Regions from separate parts of the Homo sapiens genome. Here region 2 is linked to region 1. Evidence: promoter capture Hi-C in human tissues and cell types (Jung and others, 2019). All regions are on one chromosome and are shown on one strand. The core of a region is centred on a gene start or on the middle of the fragment in contact, and the rest is flanking DNA. Distances in the headings are between cores, read along the strand shown. Region 1 holds the start of NKX3-2 (NK3 homeobox 2). Region 2 overlaps RAB28 (RAB28, member RAS oncogene family).

What was found. The method cuts DNA at HindIII sites, captures the fragments that hold promoters and counts their contacts. A contact is called where the count stands out against the background at its distance.
Region 2: a contact is called between a fragment that was not itself captured here and the fragment with the promoter of NKX3-2 in region 1, in 1 of the 25 tissues and cell types used here (mesendoderm cells).

Annotation. Positions count from the first base shown.
Region 1 is chr4:13,542,609-13,546,841 of GRCh38, forward strand. It overlaps NKX3-2 (NK3 homeobox 2), which reads right to left and starts at 1,900. Exons shown (of 2, transcript NM_001189.4): 1 at 1,341-1,900. The coding sequence starts at 1,806. LINC01096 (long intergenic non-protein coding RNA 1096) reads right to left here. Exons shown (of 1, transcript NR_015450.1): 1 at 3,468-4,233. RefSeq lists an enhancer at 4,026-4,233. The HindIII fragment of the contact is 14,287 bases long and covers 1-4,233 here.
Region 2 is chr4:13,413,024-13,417,256 of GRCh38, forward strand. The region is part of intron 4 of RAB28 (RAB28, member RAS oncogene family); the gene reads right to left. Among named protein-coding and RNA genes, the nearest start is that of RAB28, 69 kb to the right of the region's middle. RefSeq lists an enhancer at 2,559-3,069. The HindIII fragment of the contact is 4,022 bases long and covers 1-3,847 here.

The sequences.
Region 1 (4,233 bases), core at 650-3,149:
ACGGGAGTGGGGCGGAAATACACTTTGATCCCACTCAAGCGGAGCGGAGGTCTGGGAGGCCCTGGGCCCGGGAGACCAGTCTTAGACTCTTGCCCCACTGGGTATCCCATCTAGGCCTCTTCTGGGGAGGGCGGCAGACTCAGCCGCTGTGTCAACGCTGTGTTGTCGAGACCAGCTCCCCACCCTCTCTGGGCCCCAGGCTCCCCTCAGTAACTTGGGGCACTCGACCCGAGCATCCGCGAAAGCCCTCCCGGCTCTCAGCGTTGAGCATTGGGATTCTAGACTGCATTTCCGTCTCTCTGCTTGGGTTCACGCGCCTCTCCACACTTAGTTCACACGCACACACGCGCGCGTCCTCGCAGCACACACTTGTCTGGTGCAGGTAAGGGAAGGTGGAGGCGGATCCTGGGGCCAAAGGTATTTAGAATCTTTCACCCTCAGCCGCCTGGGATTGCTGTGAGAGACATGGAAACAGGCTGAGCCGAGGCCTTAGATGAGAGGATGGACTGGAGAGTAAAGAGGGAGGGTTGCCCCTGCATCGAGTTTTTGGACCCTGATCCCACACCAGCTTCTCGGTCTCGTACCCGCCCTTCCGAAGAACTCCAGCAGAAAGGTCCAGCGGTCCCCTGTGCTTGAGGCCTACAGAAGCTTGTACCCAACTAGGGCAGGCACCCGGGTCTTCCAGACCACAGGACAGGACAGGCCACGGCTGAGGAGGCCTCTCTCCTGCCTCCAGGATGAACTAAAGACCCAATCCGGGATCTTCGGCCTAGGGCTGCTCTCCCAGACCTGGGGTCTGAGAAAGCCAAACCAGCCCTTTCCCCAAAGCTCTAGTTCTGCAGATTCTCAGCTCTGGCCCACTCGGAGGTGTTCTTCACCACCTATCCACCTACTGTGGGGCCCGGCCCTGGGACCTTGAACTGGCAGGTCTCTGGTCCAGAGCTAGGTCACTGGCTACCTGAGGTCTCTGAACCCCTCACTTTTCCGCTTCCCTGATTTTGGGGATTTGGGGACAGACACGGCAGAAAGCACTGGCGACGAACTCAAAAACTCCCGAACGCAAGGGGCAGCGGTTCTCCCAACCCAGTCTAATGCACATTGGCCCAGGATGTCTCAGGCCTCACCCCAGGACGTAGGGCTCTGAGGAGCTACTCCGGTCTCTCGCGGGCTCAGTTCCCGAAGTGATAGAGCAGCTCGCGCCAGAGCGCAGAACTTCGGGATTTGGCCAGCCTCCGAGCCCCAGGGCGCAGGGTGCTCAAGCCGACCACCCCACTCGGCGTGGTTGCCCTCCGCGTCCATCCCCTCAGCCCGGCCCCCATCCCCGCGAAGCCGCAGCAGACCTGAGACGCTGGCGGACATCTCGCTGTCGCTCCGGCCCGCGGCTTCCTCCTCTAGGTCTTTGGAAGCGGCCAGCTCACAGACCGGCTGGCCGAGGCTCAAGGATCCCCCCGCAAGGCCGGCCCCGCTGGCCCCCCGCGCGTCCGCGCAGCGCCGCCTGCTCTCGTTCTCCTCGCTGAGCGCGGAGTCCGAGTCCCAGCCTTCCGGGCTCTCCGCAGTCCGCCCCGCAGCTGTTCTGGTACCGGCAGGAGACGCCAGCAGAGAGTCCTCGGCGCCCCCCAACGCGCCCGCGTCCCTCTCCCCAAAGAGCCGCCAACAGCAGACAGCGGGAGCCGCGGCCACCGATGCCGCTGTGCCCCCGGGCGCCGGGCGCCCCTCTGGCGCGGCCAGCCCGCCGCGCTCCTCTTTCTTGTTGAGGATCGCCTGGATGGAGAAGGACGTCAAGGTGTTGGCGCCGCGCACAGCCATCTGCGCCGCGGGCAGGAGCGGCCGGCGGGGCGGGCAGCTGGGGCGCCGAGCAGCTCCGAGCGGGACAGAGAGCGCCGGCGGCCGCAGCGCGAGTGAGCTGGGTGTGCGAGGCCGCCGCCGCCCACTGCTGCGCGGCCCAGCAGCTCCCGCCCCACTCCGTCCCAGGATCAGCGCCGACCCTCGCCCCCACCTTAGAGGCCCACCCCGCCCGGAGACCCCCTCCCCCCGAATCCAGAGCCAGACGCTCTCCTTTCGCAGCTCAGCTGGATTATCTCATCGCTTCTCGCCCTTAGGGGCGGGCTGGGGTCTGCCCCCTCGGGGGACGTGAAGGAGGATTGGCGGGGGCCCCTCCGTGGCAGCAGTCCCCTCCCGAGCGCCGCCGGGGCGCACAGCCCGAGTCACTTTTTCTTTGCGCGTCTGTCCCTTCCTCGCCTGCAGGATTTCGCTCCTGGCCCGTCCTCCCCTTCCCTGCTGGGCAGGCTCTTCCGGAGCCCACCCCCGGCGGCGGCGGCGGTAGCCGCGGCCGCGGCCGCTGGATTCCGAGAGGCGCGGGGAACTTTTTTACCCCCTGCCCTGGTTTTATCTGTTTCTTTTCTCTTTCCTTCCCTTGCGTTCCACTGTACCACCCCCCTCCCGCCCGGGTGTCATTCCTCACTGCTGAGTGACAGCCTGAGGCCACACCCCTCCACTGGGCTGTCCCGGGCGCTCCCGGCCGTCCATTGGCTGGCTCCAGTTGGGCGACGTTGACTTTAACAGACAAAACTGGGCACGTTGCGCCGCTAAAGACAGGGTCTGACTTAACCCCTTCTCTCCTAAGCCTGGTCCTCGAAGCACCCTCCAGCAACAAGGAGGCTCATCCGACCCAAACCACGTTTCTTACCTCTGCAGATGTATCCACTTATTCCAGCGCTTTAACAGAACACTGATACTAAGTTGAGTCAAATCTGCGGAGAAAATCCAAGATAATGCAGTTCCATAAATCATGCTCGTAGTTTCTGTTCTCTAGGAAGGATTATAAACACGAAGAACAAAATGCATCCTTTTTTTTCTCCCTACAGTTTCGCCGCTTCTTCATTGCTAATGCTCTTTGCTGAAATGATCAGTTAATTAAGATCACTCTAGAAATATTTTTCTTTCCTCGTCGTCTTTGATTTGATTCGATTTTTATAGAGGAATTATAAAAAAATGGTATAGTTAGAACTAAAGTCAGGAGAAGAATTGAAAGGCATCTTTGGGAGAATTTCTGTAAATTTTATGGTCGTTTCCCTGGCAGACCAATATTGAATTTAATTGGAGTTTGTTAAGTTTTGCATCAGGAAGAAAAAAAAAACTTTCAATTTGTTTTTTTTAAATATCTCTTACTTGTGAGTTGAATAAAATTATAAATAGATATGTTTGTTTGCTTAGAAGTATACCTAGGAATTACCATAAAGTGATCCAGAAGTGACAACACTTTTTGCTCTTTAAAAAATAAGAAATGCATTGTATTATGTAATAGTAGGAACCAAGCTAAGAAACACAAATATTGTGGGTATATAAAAACATTTTAAAATGTGTTATTCCTTTTTTAATATAAAATTTGCTCAATTAACGTACTTCACTGTTTTCCATAAACTTTACCAGAGAGTTAACACCAAATACACAAACTTGAACCATTAAATACATTTAAAGGACTATGATTTTAATTTATTAAATTGCTAGGATTGGTAGTTTTGGTGTCATTAAAATAAATAACATCTCCCCTTGTTGCTTTCTTTTTGGTTGTTCTTTTTCTGCACCGCAGAAGGAAATACACTGACTATTCATAGTTCTCAGTCTCAGAATGAGGTTTTGCAGCATCTATACTTTTCAGCATTTCGGTTACATGATGCTTTCTTGCTTTGTGCAAACCTTGTAGGGTACCTGGGAAAAAACATCCACTTGAGGTCATTGCCCTTTACAGCTCTTTACAATTACATCAGTTTTGAAGGAACGCCATTTAAATTTGGTGTCAGTGCTCAGCAAGTGTAAGGACGCAGAGTGGAACAGCAGAATGCTTACAGTCTTTCAAAAACAGTGTGTCCTCTCCTCCCCCGCTGTATTATTTAAATTACCGTTCTCCTCACTTCGGGCAGGGATGTTGGGAATTATGTATAGTGAGGAGATTGACACTGGTTGCCTGGAAGGTAGGGGACGGGCAGGTATGGGTTTGGTGTCCCGTACAGCGATCGCTTTGTGGGTTTAGTACTTGGTGCTGACAAATAATGGAGTGAGATCCGAACATAAAGGCAGGCAGAGATGTTTTGGGGCTGAATCACCGAATACTAGAGTAGGTTTGGGGCTACGTAAAGACTTGCTTGAAAACAACTACCATTTAGTTGCGAATCCCTCCCCTCTTCCCTTTGATTCGATGTTTAAAAAGAATCCCAAATCACAGTTGGACATACT
Region 2 (4,233 bases), core at 587-3,086, 130 kb before region 1:
GAGAAAAAAATATAGAAGACAAGCAAATATCTAATATGCAGATAACTGGTGTCCCCGAAAAAATAACAGAACAGAAAAAAATAATTTCACAAAAAAATGGAAGGATTTAAATCTATTTGTTTGAAAGGTATATGTTATCCATCAATCTCTCCACCCCAATAAACAGATACAGAATAATCAATACATATCAATGTATCTTATCTTGAAATCTAAGAAAGAATCTTTGGGACATACTGACAAAAAATTTAAGTCATTAATTATAATATTAAAAAATCAAACTTTCCTTAGACTTTTTGAAATTCAATACTGAAAAACAGCATGGTGACACAGACTTCTGAAGGAAATAAAGTGTGGCAAACTAATCTGCTGTCCAGCCAGTATGTTATTTAAACTTAAAACCAAGAATATTTCTGCACATGCAGTAACTCAAGGAATAAAGATCCTAGCAGCCCTTCTTTGTAAAAAGAAGACTACTCTTTATTCGGCTCTTGTCACACTATTTAATAGTACCCGCAGAGAAAAAAGCATAAAGTTTTAAGAGAGAAAATGAACCCAAAATTAATGAACCCGCAGAGAAAAAGCATAAAGTTTTAAGAGAGAAAATGAATGTTTTAAAAATTATGCATGATGTATAAAAACAAAAGATAGTAATAAATAAGAAAAGAAGAGATAGTTTTTTTATAAATTAGGAATGGAAAAAAGGGGATATAATCCCAGATGAGGAAGGGATTTTTAAAGACAGAGAATGCCAAGTATAACTTTATTCCAATAAACTTGTGCTAAAATGTTCAGACCCACAAAAATGACCACAGGCCACATTTGGCATAAGTCTATTCCAAAATATAGAAGACAAGAACTATAGCTTGCCAGCTGGCCAGCATCTAGTCTTTCTCAGAGGGAAACTACAGATTACACAGCAGTCTAGGAGCTATTTTCTCCTCAAGTGACAGCACAAATATGAGCATATGACAATGACACATGGGTATATGGTCAGCTCAGAAGCCCCGTTCCACAAGAGCCAATTTCTCTTGTAACATTCCATAAGCAAAGATTCCAGAGCCCCTCCAAATGACAAGCCACGCACGAGTCTCTGCACTCAGAAAAGCCCAAAAGCTACGGTTTCTAACAGTATTTATAGTTCATCTCTGGTCCCTCCCAGTCCAGCTGTTATTAACTAATCAGGTTTCATTTTTATCATAAAAATGTTCTGCAGTAATGTTATTGACACATACTACCTTAACAGGTTACCACGGGAACAGAGCTACATTGTTTAATTGAAGATCAGACACTTAAGCTGTAAGGGAAAGTCATTTGGCCATGCACCCATAATTCAAAAATCTAGATCAAATCATCCATGAAAATATAAATAACCCAAACTGACTGGGAATAAAAGAAGCAACACCAAATTCTCGTATCAAAGGGGAACTATAACAGGTAGTAAAAGATCTAACTCCAAAAGAGGTACCAAAATCCTGATGATTTTATAAATAAGTTATACCATACCTTCCGAAAATATAGTTCCTATGTCACTTCAACCAACTACAGTAAACAGAAACATATGGGGTATTTCCCAATTCATTTATGAAGCTGACATAATCTTGGTACTAAAACCAGACAAGGCTGGTACAAACTTCAGACCAATCTCATTTAAAAGCAAAGATTGTACATAAAACATTAAATTGTATCTAGCAGTATATAAAAGAAAATATGCTGTGACAAAAAAAGTTTAATTTAGGAATTACAAGGCTGGTTTAACATTAGATCTTTTTATGTAATCCATTATGAATAAGCAAAATGAGGAAAACATCATATATGCCTTCATTAAATAAAATTTAACTCATGTTCTTAATATGAAGATGAATAGGACAGGATGAAAACCAACTTCCTTAATTTGATAAAGAATACCAATTAGAAGCCAAAAACAAAATTCCTACTGAATGATAAAATACTAAATAAGGCAATTCTTATAAAGTCAGTATTAAGGGTTCTTGGTATCACAGTAGTTATTCAAAACTGTTCAAGAATTTTAGACAATTCAGTAAGATAAAAATAAGATGTAAGCTATAGGTAAGGAAGAAGAATCATCATTAATTGCAGATATAATGACATCATCAAAAGAGACTATCAGAGACTGACTTTTTAAAATATGCTGACTCAATTCACAATCACATATAAATGCTGAAAATATGTAAGTAGTATTGAGAGTTGACAGCATGCTGGCAGCCCTCACAGCCCTTGCTCACTCTCGGGGCCTCTCTGCCTGAGCTCCCACTTTGGCGGCACTTGAGGAAGTGCCCGCCGCTGGGCTGTTGGAGCCCCTTCCTGGGCTGGCTGAGGCCGGAGCCGGCTCCCTCAGCTTGCAGGGAGGTGTGGAGGGAGAGGCGCAGGCGGGAACCGGGGCTGCGCGGTGCTTGCAGGCCAGTGCAAGTTCAGGGTGAGTGTGGGCTCAGCGGGCTGCACTCAGAGCGCCCGGCCAGCCCTGCCGGCCCGGGCAATGAGGAGCTTAGCACCCAGGCCAGTGGCTGCAGAGGGTGTGCTGGGTCCCCCAGCAGTGCCGGCCCACTGGCACTGCGCTCGATTTCTTGCCGGGCCTTAGCTGCCTGCAGCCCGCCATGCCTGAGCCTCCCCCGCCCCCTCCAACCACGCCACCCTGGGCTCCTGTGTGGCCCAAGCCTCCCCAACGAGCACCATCCCCTGCTCTACGGCGCCCGGTCCCAATGACCACGCAAAGGCTGAGGCGTGCGGGCGCACGGCATGGGACTGGCAGGCAGCTCCACCTGCAGCCCCAGTGCAGGATCCACTGGGTGAAGCCAGCTGGGCTCCTGACTGGTGGGGACTTGGAGAACCTTTATGTCTAGCTAGGGGATTGTAAATACACCAATCGGCACTCTGTATCTAGCTCAAGGTTTGTAAACACACCAATCAGCACCTTGTGTCTGGCTCAGGGTTTGTGAATGTACCAATCGACACTCTGTATCTAGCTACTCTGTTAGGGACTTGGAGAACCTTTGTGTCTAGCTCAGGGATTGTAAACACACCAATCAGCACCCTGTCAAAACAGACTCGGCTCTCTGTAAAATGGAGCAATCAGCAGGATGTGGGTGGGGCCAGATAAGAAAATAAAAGCAGGCTGCCCAAGCCAGCAGTAGCAACCTGCTCAGGTCCCCTTCCACACTGTGGAAGCTTTGTTCTTTCACTCTTTGCAATAAATCTTGCTGCTGCTCACTCTTTTGGTCCACACTGCCTTTATGAGCTGTAACACTCACTGCGAAGGTCTGCAGCTTCACTCCTGAGCCAGCGAGACCACAAACCCACCAGAAGGAAGAAACTCCGAATATATCCAAACATCAGAAGGAACAAACTCCAGACACGCCGCCTTTAAGAACTGTAACACTCACCGCGAGGGTCCGCGGCTTCATTCTTGAAGTCAGTGAGACCAAGAACCCACCAATTCCGGACACAGTATGTTTAACAACATAGCCAAGTTTAAAAGATAAATTCTAAGAGAATAGAAATACAGAGAAAAATTAAAGGCAGAACAATATAATGGATGATTCCATTTATATGAAATTCTAGAACAGGCAAAACCAACCCATGGAGTAAATAATTAAGAATGGGGGTGGGGATGAAGACTGAATGCAAACTTTCTGAAGTAATGGTAATATTCTATATCTTGATAAGAATTTAGATTATATAAGTATATGATCTGTCAAAACTCATTAAATGCACACAAACGAAGATTCCATTCCAAGATGGCCAAATAGAAACAGCTCCAGTCTGCAGCTCCCAGTGTGATCAACACAGAAGATGGTGATTTCTGCATTTCCAAAAGAGGTACATGGTTCATCTCATTGGGACTGGTAGGACAGTGGATGCAGCCCATGGATGGCAAGCCGAAGCAGGGCGGGGCATCACTTCACCCAGGAAACACAAGGGGTCGGGGGATTTCCCTTTCCTAGCCAAGGAAGCCATGACAGACTGTACCTGGAAAATTGGGACACTCCCACTCAAATACTGCGCTTTTCCAATGGTCTTAGCAAACGGCACATCAGGAGATTATATCCTGCACATGGCTCGGCAGGTCCCATGCCTATAGAGCCTTGCTCACTAGCAGTGCAGCAGTCTGCGATCGACCTGTGAGGCAGCCGCCTGGCAGAGGGAGGGGCATCCTCCATTGCTGAGGCTTGAGTTGGTAAACAAAGTGGCCAGGAAGCTCAAACTGGGTGAAGCCTA